2 separate regions of the Homo sapiens genome follow, and region 2 is linked to region 1. Evidence: promoter capture Hi-C in 16 types of primary human blood cells and fetal thymus (Javierre and others, 2016). All regions are on one chromosome and are shown on one strand. The core of a region is centred on a gene start or on the middle of the fragment in contact, and the rest is flanking DNA. Distances in the headings are between cores, read along the strand shown. Region 1 holds the start of ATXN2L (ataxin 2 like). Region 2 holds the start of STX4 (syntaxin 4).

Region 1 (5,854 bases), core at 1,112-3,611:
AAGAAAACAAGAAATTACTTAAGTCTGTTCAAGCCCTCTTAGACCACTATGAAATTAATGTTAAATCCTAGAAGTATATACCACCTGATGATGCTGATTTAGACTACAAAATTGTTAATCAGTAAGATTTTTCTATTTTTTTTGAGACAGGGTCTCCCTCTGTTGCCCAGGCTGGGGTGCAGTGGCGTGATCTCAGTTCACTGTAGCCTCAACCTCCAAGGCTCAAGTGATCTTCCTGCCTCAGCCTCCCGAGTGGCTGAGACTATAGGTACGAACCACCACTCCTGGCTTTTTTTTTTTTTAATTTTTAGTAGAGATGGGATTTCCCATCTGTGTTGCCCAGGCTGGTATCGATCTCCTTGGGCTCAAGGGATCCTCCCACCTTTGCCTCCTAAAGTGCTGGCATTACAGGCGTGAGCCACTGCGCCCGGCCAATAAATAAGATTTTCAAACTGTCACCTTGTAGAGGAAGAAAAAAATAGACATTAATAAGCCAGCAAACACATTTCCTCCAAATGCCAGCAAAAAGATCTCAATCAACAATGGTTGTCAATTGCTCTAAGAACCAACGAGAAAGGGGCTAGGGCTGCAGGCTACCAACAGATCAATGCTACAGTATTAACCAAAAAGCCACGCCAGCTGTGAGGGCAAAAGCTCCAGGAGTGCAGCTTTGGAACTACCTAGCTCAGGTACATTACCTCCCAAACAGAAAAGACAATCATTTTCAGCAGCCTGACGCCTCAAAACTGTGGGAGGAGGGGTATCCCCTCCACACCCCATCCCCTCGACCTCATGACTCATTCAGCCCGTTACCCACTCTGCGGGGATCACCAATCGCCAGGTAACCCTGCTCGTCGCTGGCTGATGTAACCGGCGGTTGAGGGCGAAGAGGGGGCCGCTGGCGGGGCTGGGGGACAGCGCAGCCGCAAAAGCCATCCACCGGGAGGCCTCGCCCGGTCTGCGCCTGCGCACTAAAACCCACGGGACTTTCCGAACCCCCACCTCCAGCGATCAGAGCCCACTGCGCCTGCGTGTGCTGCCACTCTTAATTCCATTAACACACACACACTCGCACAGGAAAAACTGAGCAGGGCCTCCACTACTCATGCACTGCCACCAGACGAGCCCCTCCACGAACTAGTCCCTGCCCTAGGTGTTCCCGGGGCGCGCGAATGCCCGGGTCATGAGACCGAGCATCCACGCGCACGTACGGGAAGGGGGCGCGCGCGCCAGAGGCTCCCGGCCCGCAGTCCTCCCAGTCATCCCTCCTTCCGTCCCCCCGCCCACCTCGCTCCCCTCCTACTGGCCAGACCGGGAAGGGGGAGGCAGCAACCCGCTCCCAAGTCCCTCCCTCCCCATTGGCCAAACTGTGGGCCGCGCGCCCCCCTCCATTGGCTACGGCCGGGGACCCCTTCCCGCAGCAGACTCCCCATTGGCTGAAGCCGGGGACCGCGAGACCCTTCGTGGTAATGGAACCGGGGACCCCGATCAGCTCCTTGCCCCCCCCCAACTCCCCGTTCCGACGGCGCCGGCGGGATGCGCCCCGCCTCCCCTGAAGGCCGGGGCTGCGAGCCCTGACTAGGCCCCGAGAGCCGAGCGCGGCCCCTCAGTGCTCCGGTGGCCGCCCGGGGACCCTTTCCGTCCGACCTGTTCGGACCTGAGGGGGCCCTCCCCCAGCTTCACGGGGACTCCCCACCCAGCCGGTGCCCCTGACGGTGCCGGGTCGGGGTCCGCCCCACCGGAACCGAGCCACAGCCTCTGGGTGGCCGCGGCTCCCTCGCCCGGAGCCCACCCTTCTCACCTGGCGCTGCCGATGGCGGCTGCCCCCGGCCTCTCCTGGTGTTGCTGCGGCGGCGGCGGCTGCGGCGCCAAGATGCCTTCGGCTCCCCGGCGGAGCCCGCTCCCGGCAGCGGCCACAGGCCCCAGGCAGGGGGAGGCGGCCGCTGGAGGCCCGGGAGGAGCCGCAGAGGTGGCCAGCGGCCCCGGGAGGCCGCCGTTGGGAGGGCTGGTGCCCCCGGGGGGCCGACGGGCCACGGCCTGTTGCGTGGGGGGCGGCTGCTGGGGCTGGGAGGGCTGTTGTAGCGGCTGAGGCTTCAACATGATGGCAGCGTCCGGAAGGGGAATTAGAGAGAAGGGAGGGAGAGAGGGGGCCGGGGCTGGGGCCCCGCTGGAGAGCGCGGGAAGCGAGGGGGATCGGGCAGCCGGGGCCCGCCGTGGGCGGGCGGGGGGAGCCCCGCGGTGTCGGGGGTGGAGAGAGAAGACCGCGGCGCGAGGAAGCGCCGCGAGGCGGAAGGGGAGGGGGTCTCGCGGCTGGAGGAAAGCGAGAGGGCGCGAGCCGGGCTGGCGCGCGTGCGCGTCGCCGGGGAGCGGAGAGGGAGGAGCGCGCGGGTGGGAGCTCCCGGGGGGGGGGGGGGGGGGGGGGGGCCAGGAGCGAGCAGTGGCGCGAGGTGCCGCGCACACCGGCGCGGTTAGCTCCCGGCGGGAAAGTGGGAGAGAATCAAGTCGGTGAACCTCGCACCCCTAGCCCTGGGAGTGGGTAAGGAGCGGCGCGGGCGCTCACGCGCGCCAAGGATTTAGGGTCTTAAGGTCTCAAACCGCCTTAGAAGCCGGCGGCCGCTGTCGCTTCACAATGAGCGTGTGAGGCGCAGGGGGAGGAGCCGAAGGCGCCAGAGGAAGGGCCGGCCTCTCCGCCCACGCCGTCGCTGCGTCGCGATGCCTCCGCGGGAGTGTGAGGCGGCACGTCGTGCGTGAGGCTCTTCCGCCACTTGGCGGCCCGTGGGCAGAGCCTTAAGTGCCAAGAAAGTCTCCGGGACTGGACCACCCGAGCCACTGCGCTTTTAGGCAGGTGGTAGGTTTCGCAAGGAGCTACCCTCCACCTTGTTTGCTTTAAGTAAAAGACTGATGAGCATTAGTGATTCGTTTGAGCGTGTTGATCTTTGCAGATAAATTTACGCCTCGTCCTAAATTATTTCAGATTTTTGTGATTTTGACCTAAATTGTTCCTCCATGCCCGAGAATGAATCTTTAAACTGTAATAACAAAGACTGAAGGCCAAAGTTCCGAGTTCAAAATCCTCCACCCGACCCTGCAATGAAGGCAGCTTCATTCATTCAAAATGAGTTGGGCATTGGAGTATTCAGTTAGTTGTTTTGGACACAAGGATAATTAAACTGCTTCCTGCTCTGGAGGAGTTCATGCTAGTGGTGAATTCAGAGAATTTGACGAGATCTAGTAGGTGAAGCACAGAGGACTACAAGAGCAAATGGGAGTGACACCTAATCTTAATCCAGTTTTGGGAGACCCAGATAAGGGACAGGAGGGCCGGGCGCAGTGGCTCATACCTGTAATCCTAACATTTTGGGAGTCCGAGGCAGAAGGATCGTTTAAGGCCAGGAGTTTGAGACCAGCCTAGGCAACAAAGTGAGACTTTGTCTCTACAAAAAAAAAAAAATTTAAATTATAAAAAAAAACTGATAAGAGGGCAGGGGGAGATGGGTTTCTAGGCAGGGAAATAGGATATGACAAACTAAGAAAAACTCAGCTTGTCCTAAGCATAAAATTAAAGGGGGGAAGAGGTAGCTAATCTGGGATCAGGTTTTAAAGGCTCCCAAGTCTTGTAAGAGACACGGACATTATCCTCAAAGCAGTGGGGAGCTTATTTAAGAAAGTGAAAAGAGGCTGGGCATGGTCTGTAATCCCAGTACTTTGGGAGGTTTGAGGTCAGGAGTTTGAGATCAGCCTGGCCAACATGGTGAAACCCTGTCTCTACTAAAAATGCAAAAATTAGCTAGGCGTGGTGGTGCATGCCTGTAATCCCAGCTACTCAGGAGGCTGAGGCAGGAGAATCACTTGAACCAAGGAGGCGGAGGTTGCCGTGAGCCCAGATCGCACCACTGCACTCCAGCCTGGGTGACAGAGCAAGACTCCTTCCCCCCAAAACAAACAAAAAAACAAGTGAAAAGAGGTCAGATTTGCATTTTTAAAGGTTTACTCTTTGCAACGTGGAGAATGGAGTGGAGCTGTTAAGTCCATGTGGTCTTAATCCCAGCGAAACTCTCAATGTCTCAATCTCTTCGCTCTAAATGTTAGCATTGGAACTCTTCCCAGCCCCTGCACCAAACACATGCACACCTAGCTACAACACTGCCTTACTTTTTGGGTAATAGTCCTTCGCCCTGCCTCGCTCCTGCCTTCAGATGTGCTAGTTTCCCCTCCTGTGTGCTCGCCGAGCAATTTATCCCACTGTATTCTAACAGCTCCTTTAATTCTGTCTTCCTGCTAATGTCAGCTCCCTAAGGGTTAGGATCTTGACTTATTTCTTGCTCTGCAGTACTCTAGCACACTGCAGGCACTCAATGAAATATCTGTAAGGTGAGTGGATCCAAATGATGTTTTTTTGTTTGTTTTTGAGATGGAGTTTTGTTCTTATTGCCCAGGCTGGAGTGCAATGGCGCGATCTCGGCTCACCACAACCTCCGCCTCCCGGGTTCAAGCGTTTCTCCTGCCTCAGCCTCTTGAGTACCTGGGATTACAGTCATGCACCACCACACCCGGCTAATTTTGTATTTTTAGTGGAGACGGGGTTTCTCCATGTTGGTCAGGCTGATCTTGAACTCCCGACCTCAGGTGATCCACCCGCCTCGACCTCCGAAAGTGCTGGGATTACAGGCATGAGCCACCACGCCCAGCCCAAATGGTGTTTTAAAGGTCATCATGTCTCCTGGGTTCCCTAACAAACACAGTCCAGCTTTTTCCTGGCATTACCTGGACCACCTGATGCCATGCCACCTCTCTACCCTCATTGACAGATTGTGAGCACTGAGCACTCTAACCCCCTTCCATCTACCCCATCCTGCTCCACACTCAAATTCTGAGTTTTAGCCCCATGAAACTTCTTTCTCCATAGCTTGCCTTGCCCTTGCTAGTGGCAGCTAATTTGCATGGGGTCTACAGCAACCTCAATTCTTGCCTCCTCAGAAGAAAGAATTCCACCAAGGGGCATAAGGCAGAGGGAGAGACAGAGGCAAGTTTTAGAGCAGGAGTGAACGTTTATTAAAAAGTTTTAGAGCAGGAATGAAAGGAAGTAAAGTACACTTGGAAGAGGGCCAGGCGTGAATGACTTGACAGATTCAAGTCCCTGGTTTGACCTTTGACTTGGGGTTTCATATGCTGGCATGCTTCCAGGGATTTACGGTTTGCATCTCTTCTCCCCTGATTCCTACCTTGGCATGGGCTGTCCACATGCACGGTGGCCTGCCAGCACTTGGAGGGGCCACAAGCACAGTGTGTTCAGTATACTGAAGTGCACATGCTCACTTAAGACGTTCTTCCCTTACAGATCTAGCATTCCTGGAGGAAGGGCATGTACCATTAAACTCCGCCATTTTGCCTCTTGGTGCATAAGCTTGAGCCCATTTACCCAACTTCTGAGATCTTATCGAGAAGCTGCTGATCATCAGTTTCAAGTGTTTTCCATCTATTTGGAGACTGCCTTTCCCTGGTGCTGGCTGCAACCAATTACTATTTTAGAGACAAGTTTAACAACCACCTGACCATCACCTGATGGTTGCCTAACATTCCTGGTGGTGGGGTTGGGGCAGCACTCCTGCCCCAACAATGGGAATGTTGTCTTATCGTGTGCAATTTAAAAATTATATCACTATGGCCAGGCTCAGTGGCTCACGCCTGTAATCCCAGCACTTTGGGAGGCCGAGGTGGTTGGATCGTGAGGTCAGGAGTTCGAGACCAGCCTGGCCAATATGGTGAAACCCCGTCTCTACTAATAATACAAAAATTAGCTGGGTGTGGTGGCTCACGCCTGTAGTCCCAGCTACTCGGGAGCCTGAGGCAGAAG
Region 2 (5,854 bases), core at 2,283-4,782, 2.2 Mb before region 1:
CCTGTCTCAAAGGAAAAAAAAAAAAGGGGGGGGGGTCTCACTATATTGCCCAGGCTGGTCTCAAACTCCTGGGCTCAACCAATCCTCCCACCTCAGCCTCCAAAGTGCTGGGATTACAGGCGTGAGCCACGGTGCCTGGCTAGCCCTCTATGATCTCTCCTTCTCCCATGACCTCTCTGATCTTACTTCCTCTTACTGTTCCCTTCCTCTGCCCATCCACACTGGTCTCCTTACCCCTCCCTAGACAAAGCACACTCTCAGCTTAAGCCTTTGCATTCACTTTTCCTTCTACCTAGAATGCTCATTCCCAGCAAACACCTTTAAGTCTCTTGTTCAGATGTTACCTTCTGAATGAAGCTTCCTCCACCTGCTTTCAACTGCAACTCTACCTCCTCCAGCATGCTTAGTCCCTCTTCCCCTGCTCTTTTTTCCTTAATGCTTATTATGTTCTAAATAATTCACTTATTTATTATGGTGATTGTCTACACCAGAAGGGAAGTTCCATGAGGACAGGGATCACTGGTTCACTGCTGTATCCTAAACAGTTCCAAAAAGGTCTGGCACACAGTAGGCACCCAATATGTAACTGCTGAATGCTTGCTGAATGCCAACCTCGCTGCCTACACCACAGCTCCTACGCCTAGAGATGAACATGTTGCCTGGGCGAAACAGGTGCAACAGGCCCACATGGACCCTCAACCACTCATGCCAATCACCACCACAGGCTTCCCCAGAAACACTGGTTCTGGGGCATCTGCTCTGCCTTGCCCCTTCTTCTGAGGCCTTAAATATGCTCATTCCTTGGAGTTCCTTTTCCAGAGATACATCTGCTTTCCTGGTTCCAGCTTCACCCTTCCAAGATGCCCAAGCTGCTCCATCTTCAATCTGGGGTCCCTGCTGAGCCCTGGGCCCAACTACTCCAACCCTGACCTCCTGGTATCCTCCTCACTGGGGACCCAGAGAGGGCCAGTCAGATCACTGCAAATCTCCTTACTAAGATATCACCCCAGGGGCCGCGCGCGGTGGCTCATGCCTATAATCATAGCACTTTGCGAGGCCAAAGCAGGTGGATCAGTTGAGATCAGGAGTTCGAGACCAGCCTGGCCAACAAGGTGAAACCTCATTTCTACCAAAAATATAAAAAATTAGCCAGGTGTGGTGGTGCACACCTGTAATCCCAGCTACTCGTGAGGCTGAGGCAGGAGAATCGCTTGAAGGAGGTGGAGGTTGCAGTGAGCCAAGATTGTGCCACTGTACTCCAGCCTGAGGGACAGAGTGAGACTCCATCTCAAAAAAATAATAATAATTAAAAAAATAAGATATCACACCAGGGGAGTTCCTCTTCAGTGTTGCCCCAAGGAAGTTCCTCTTCCTGACTTCTTGAATTCCACCTGTGGGACTAAGGATGTCCCTGTCACATAGATAGGAAACCTGCCAGTCATTTATGACTTCTCACTCTCCTTCCCTGGGCAGCGCCGTTAGCCACCAGGTCCCACGTGAGTAATGTCTTTATCCCCTATTGAACCCTAACTCCTCATCTTGACTCCCAGAAAACATGTGTCCCAGCTGGGCATGGTGGCTCACGCCTGTAATTCAGCACTTTGGGAGGCCGAGGCAGGAGGGTCACCTGAGGTCAGGAGTTCGAAACCAGCCTGGCCAACATGGTGAAGCCCAGTCTCTACTAAAACTACAAAAATTAGCTGGGCATGGGGGTGTCCGCCTGTAATCCCAGCTATTCAGGAGGCTGAGGCAAAAAAAGAAAAGAAAACATGTGTCCCACAGCCAAGACTAGGTCTTGTCTGGGGTCACAGTAACTTCCTATTGAATGGAAGAAAATAAAGCAGGGTGTTATAACCGGACTGAGCATCAGGAGACCTGGCTTCCTGACCTTGAGCAAGTTCTTTCTCTCTCTGAGCTCAGTTTCCCCATTTGGAAAAGTCATCCAATTGGACTCCATGATCTCTGCAGGCCCTTCCTTCATACACCTGTCATCTAATACTTCATGAAACATTTGCTGAAATGTCCTCATTTCTGAGAAAAAAAACCCACCTGGGTTTTTCTCATTCTTGTGTTGACGGAGTTATAGTTCTCATCAGCTTCCTCCTTCTGGGGCTCTATGGCTGTGGGAAGACACAGGGGTATTGGGGGTACTTGTCTCCATAGGATTTTTAGGGAAATATAATTTATCATAAAATGACTAAGGCTGAGCCTCTAAGAGGAGAAAGTAAGTTTATTTTTCTTTGCATTACATCACTGAGTTCCCATAGGTATGCAGAGGCCACCTAACAAAACTCCATCTCCCTGCCCAAAGAATGCCCAGTGGGCAGCGATAACTGTGTAAGTAAATGGTTTCATTGTAAATAAAAGAACCTGAGAGGCGGACTTGTGCTGTGGAGAGTACAATGGCCTGGAGGCCAGGAGACAGATGCTAGACCCAGGCCTGCTGTGTGACCTGGATATATCACTGGCTTCTCTGGGCCACACACTCCCCAGATATACCAACAACAGGGCAGGATCAGAGGGAAGGATCTGTCTGAGGTCCCAGGAGCTCACCCTTCAGCTGCAGGCGGATCTCCCTCCCCAGCTGTTTGATCTCATCGCGCAGGTTCTGCAGCTCCTGCTTCATGCCTGAATAAGAGAAGGCCAAGACTCCCAAACAGCAGCCCCCACCTCAACAAACCACTCTGGCCACCACCTGCGTGGAACTACAACCCCCACAATCCCTGGGGCGGAGCATGCGCCCTGCAGCCGGGGTTTCACTCACTCTCCTCGGGAAGGGGCGTGGCCAGGATGGTGACCTGCTGTTTCTCCAACTCCTGGACTTTATTCCCCAGTTTGACAATAGTCTGCCGAATTGTCCGGACCTGGGGAGGGTGACCGAGAGGGCTGAAAGAGATATGGGGTACTCCAGACCACGCTACTCCTCGGGTCCTCCTACACCCTCGCGAATCCAGGCGGAGACCCCAGCCCCTTACCTTGTGGAAGAACTCCTCGTCCGGGCTCCCCAGCCGTGCCGTGCCCGGGTGCACCACCAGCGCGACCCGCTCCTTGTCCTCTTCGTCCGAGCTGTCATCCCCCTGCCAGGCCCGGAGTCATTGGCACCACCGTTTCGCTGCGGCTCTTACCCCGCAGGACCCACAGGCTTCCGGGACTTTCCTTCCTGGCCATCAGCCACCCCTCCCTATCCCGAAGACCAGAAGTCCTGCGTTCCAGTTCGTCCGCCCGTCCCCATCCCCGCTGCCCTGGCGTCTCACCTGTCTCAGCTCGTGGGTCCTGTCCCGCATGGCGGCCTGAGCTCTCCCTCCCCGGCGCCAGAGCCGGGAGGCCCTCAAATTTGGAATTCCCGTACCCCGCTCACACTCTGACACTCCCCTCCCTCCCCCTGCGGACCCCAACACCCCCACGAGCCGCCAGAGGCTCCGTCCCTTGCACCGCCCACAGTCAATGGGAAGGCGCCGACCCCGGGGACCCCCCAAGGTTCCACAGGTTGGAATTCCCTTTTCTTCCCCGCTCCAGCTCCCGCAGCCTCAGCCCCGCCCCTCCGTGATAAATTCGGGGCATGCGCACATGGTCGCGTCTCTTCCTTGCCCGAGGCTGGGAAGGTGGAGTCGGAAGTTGTTGCGCCCCGAGCGGAAGCGGAGATGCCTGGACGCGAGAACTTGCTACCGTCACCGGAACCGTTGCATCTTCCAACGGAAATCTGGTTGCCAAAAGGGGTAGGAATACGTCATTTGTACGTAATCCGAGACACCCGCATCTCACATCACCCCATGGTGCCCCCACCGCGTCACGTGACCAGCCCGGTCCCAAACTCGTGGACCGCAGAATGTGACCCTGTGACTGTCACGTGTCCCGGCTCTGTCACCGCCGTCTCTGGGACGCCGTTCTCATCACGACGTCCCCGGCACCCCAACGACCGAGCGACGCCCACACGGCCCCCGCGAGGTGGGGAGGGGCGCGCCGACCACCCCCAGAGGCCTTTCGAGGCAGTGGGTGGTAGGACCCTTGCTGACCTCGCCTTTATTGCTTTCGGGTCCAGGGCGTGGGCGGACTGACGACTTAGCATTTGGGGCTGTCAGCATCATGGGACCTTGAAAATCGGGAAATAATAGGATCCGAGTCGTCAGCGTCAGAAAATTGCAGGGTTGTGTGGGCAGGGAATCTGGGGGTGGGAAGTGACCTCAGCCAAGGCAGAAATCTCTTCTTCCGCATCCTTCTGGCGCAGCCTCTGACAGGTGGGCGGCCAGCCGGCGCCCTCCTTGAACACTGCAGCCCGGCTGCACTCACCACCTTGTGAGCCGTCAGACCATGTCAGGGCAGCTCAGGCTAAGAAAAGTGTTTGTATTGATCACGCTGCCTCCCTGCCACTCACACCCCCCAGCCCCTGCCTTGCATCTGAGGCCAGGTAATGACTTTGTTCTTAACTGAATCTGGGGAGTTCCTAGCCCAGTACCAAGAACATTACGGGCCCTCTATAAATACTTGTGGACAGAATTTCAGGCTTTCATGTATCTGAGGATAAAGCCCCTGGTTCCTTGGTCTTCTTTAGGCTTCAGGCTTTCTGACTGTGACACTTCTCTAATCCTGGCTATCTAGATATTCACTCATTTTTTATTTTTAAAAATTTTTACGAGATGCGGTCTCACTATGTTGTCCAAGCTGGTCTCTAACTCCTGGGCTTAAGCAATCCTTCTGCCTCAGCTTCCCAAAGTGCTGGGATTACAGGCATGCACCACCATGCACAGCAACATTCAGTCATTTAATGGATATTTTTTGGGCACATAGTATGGGCCAAACACTGTTCTAGGGCTGGAGATACATCAAGGACTAATAGACAAAAATTCCTGCACTCGTGGAACTTATATTCTCTAGAAGGAGTCCCCAAGGTCACTCAGCAAGTCTCAGCATAGCCGGGAATGAATAACAGGTCTCCTGGACCCCAGGGCTCTGTCCAGGAAGCTTCTGTGAAGGTACAAGCAAGGAAAGGAATGGACCCTTTCTGCTATGCCCTGGTCAGGAAACCTAGATTCCTGGGACTGAGTTGCTATGGACTTCTGGAAATCGCTTCCTGTCTCTAAGTGTGGATCTCCCTCTGCACAGTGGGTAACTGTAGGGGGATGGGGAGATCATCTTTATGGGTATCGGCTGCTCTAAACTTCAGTGATGATGAGGTTGGAAACTGTCAAGTGCTGTGTGATTCTATGTGAGGAGTTTTGGCTCTTCTCCTCTTCCTGTTAAAACCCAGCTCAGGCAGGGTGTGGTGGCTCATGCCTGTAATCCCAGCACTTTGGGAGGCTGAGGCAGGCAGATCACCTGAGGCCAGGAGTTGGAGACCAGCCTGGCCAACATGGCGAAACCCTGTCTCTACAAACATACAAAAATTAGCCAGGCATGATGGCAGGTGCCTGTAATCCCAGCTACTTGGGAGGCTGAGACAGGAGGATTGCTTGAACATGGGAGGTGGAGGTTACAGTGAGCTGAGATCACGCCATTGCACTCCAGCCTAGGTGACAGAGTAAGACTCTGTCTCAAAAACAAAACAAAACAAAAAAAAAAAACCCAGCTAGTAGGAGAGTGGTGCCCTGATGAACCCACAGAGGGAATGCAGGGTTTTTCCGGAGGCCAAGCCCTGCCCAGTGGTGTCCCCTGGAGATGATAAGGAAAGATTCTCTGCTCCTGGGTCTTTCATGTCAGCCTCTGCCTCTTCAGTCACTGCTGCTTGCCTCCTGCATCTTTTGTCCCCTGCCACCCGACCCCCTTCCCCCTCCTACTCTGTGTCTCTGAGTGGCACACGGTGGAAGGGCTCTTGGACCCCTGACTCATAGTCCTGCATGGGATCTTAAATAATGCATTA

The links. Contacts are between HindIII fragments. The CHiCAGO score rates a contact against its expected background, and 5 or more counts as called.
Region 2: the fragment with the promoter of STX4 here is called in contact with the fragment with the promoter of ATXN2L in region 1 in 1 of 17 cell types (monocytes); the score reaches 5.2 in monocytes.

The regions. Positions count from the first base shown.
Region 1 is chr16:28,819,506-28,825,359 of GRCh38, reverse strand. ATXN2L (ataxin 2 like) reads right to left here and starts at 2,361. Exons shown (of 22, transcript NM_007245.4): 1 at 1,802-2,361. The coding sequence starts at 2,100. LOC124903672 (a long non-coding RNA gene) reads left to right here and starts at 1,318. Exons shown (of 2, transcript XR_007065042.1): 1 at 1,318-1,466; 2 at 5,339-5,854. RefSeq lists a silencer at 1,155-2,304 and enhancers at 2,625-2,834, 2,346-3,082. The HindIII fragment of the contact is 7,883 bases long and covers 1-5,406 here.
Region 2 is chr16:31,031,236-31,037,089 of GRCh38, reverse strand. It overlaps STX4 (syntaxin 4), which reads right to left and starts at 3,532. Exons shown (of 11, transcript NM_004604.5): 1 at 3,255-3,532; 2 at 2,976-3,077; 3 at 2,765-2,864; 4 at 2,554-2,628; 5 at 2,050-2,120. The coding sequence starts at 3,284. RefSeq lists enhancers at 2,674-3,184, 3,697-4,208. The HindIII fragment of the contact is 4,602 bases long and covers 360-4,961 here.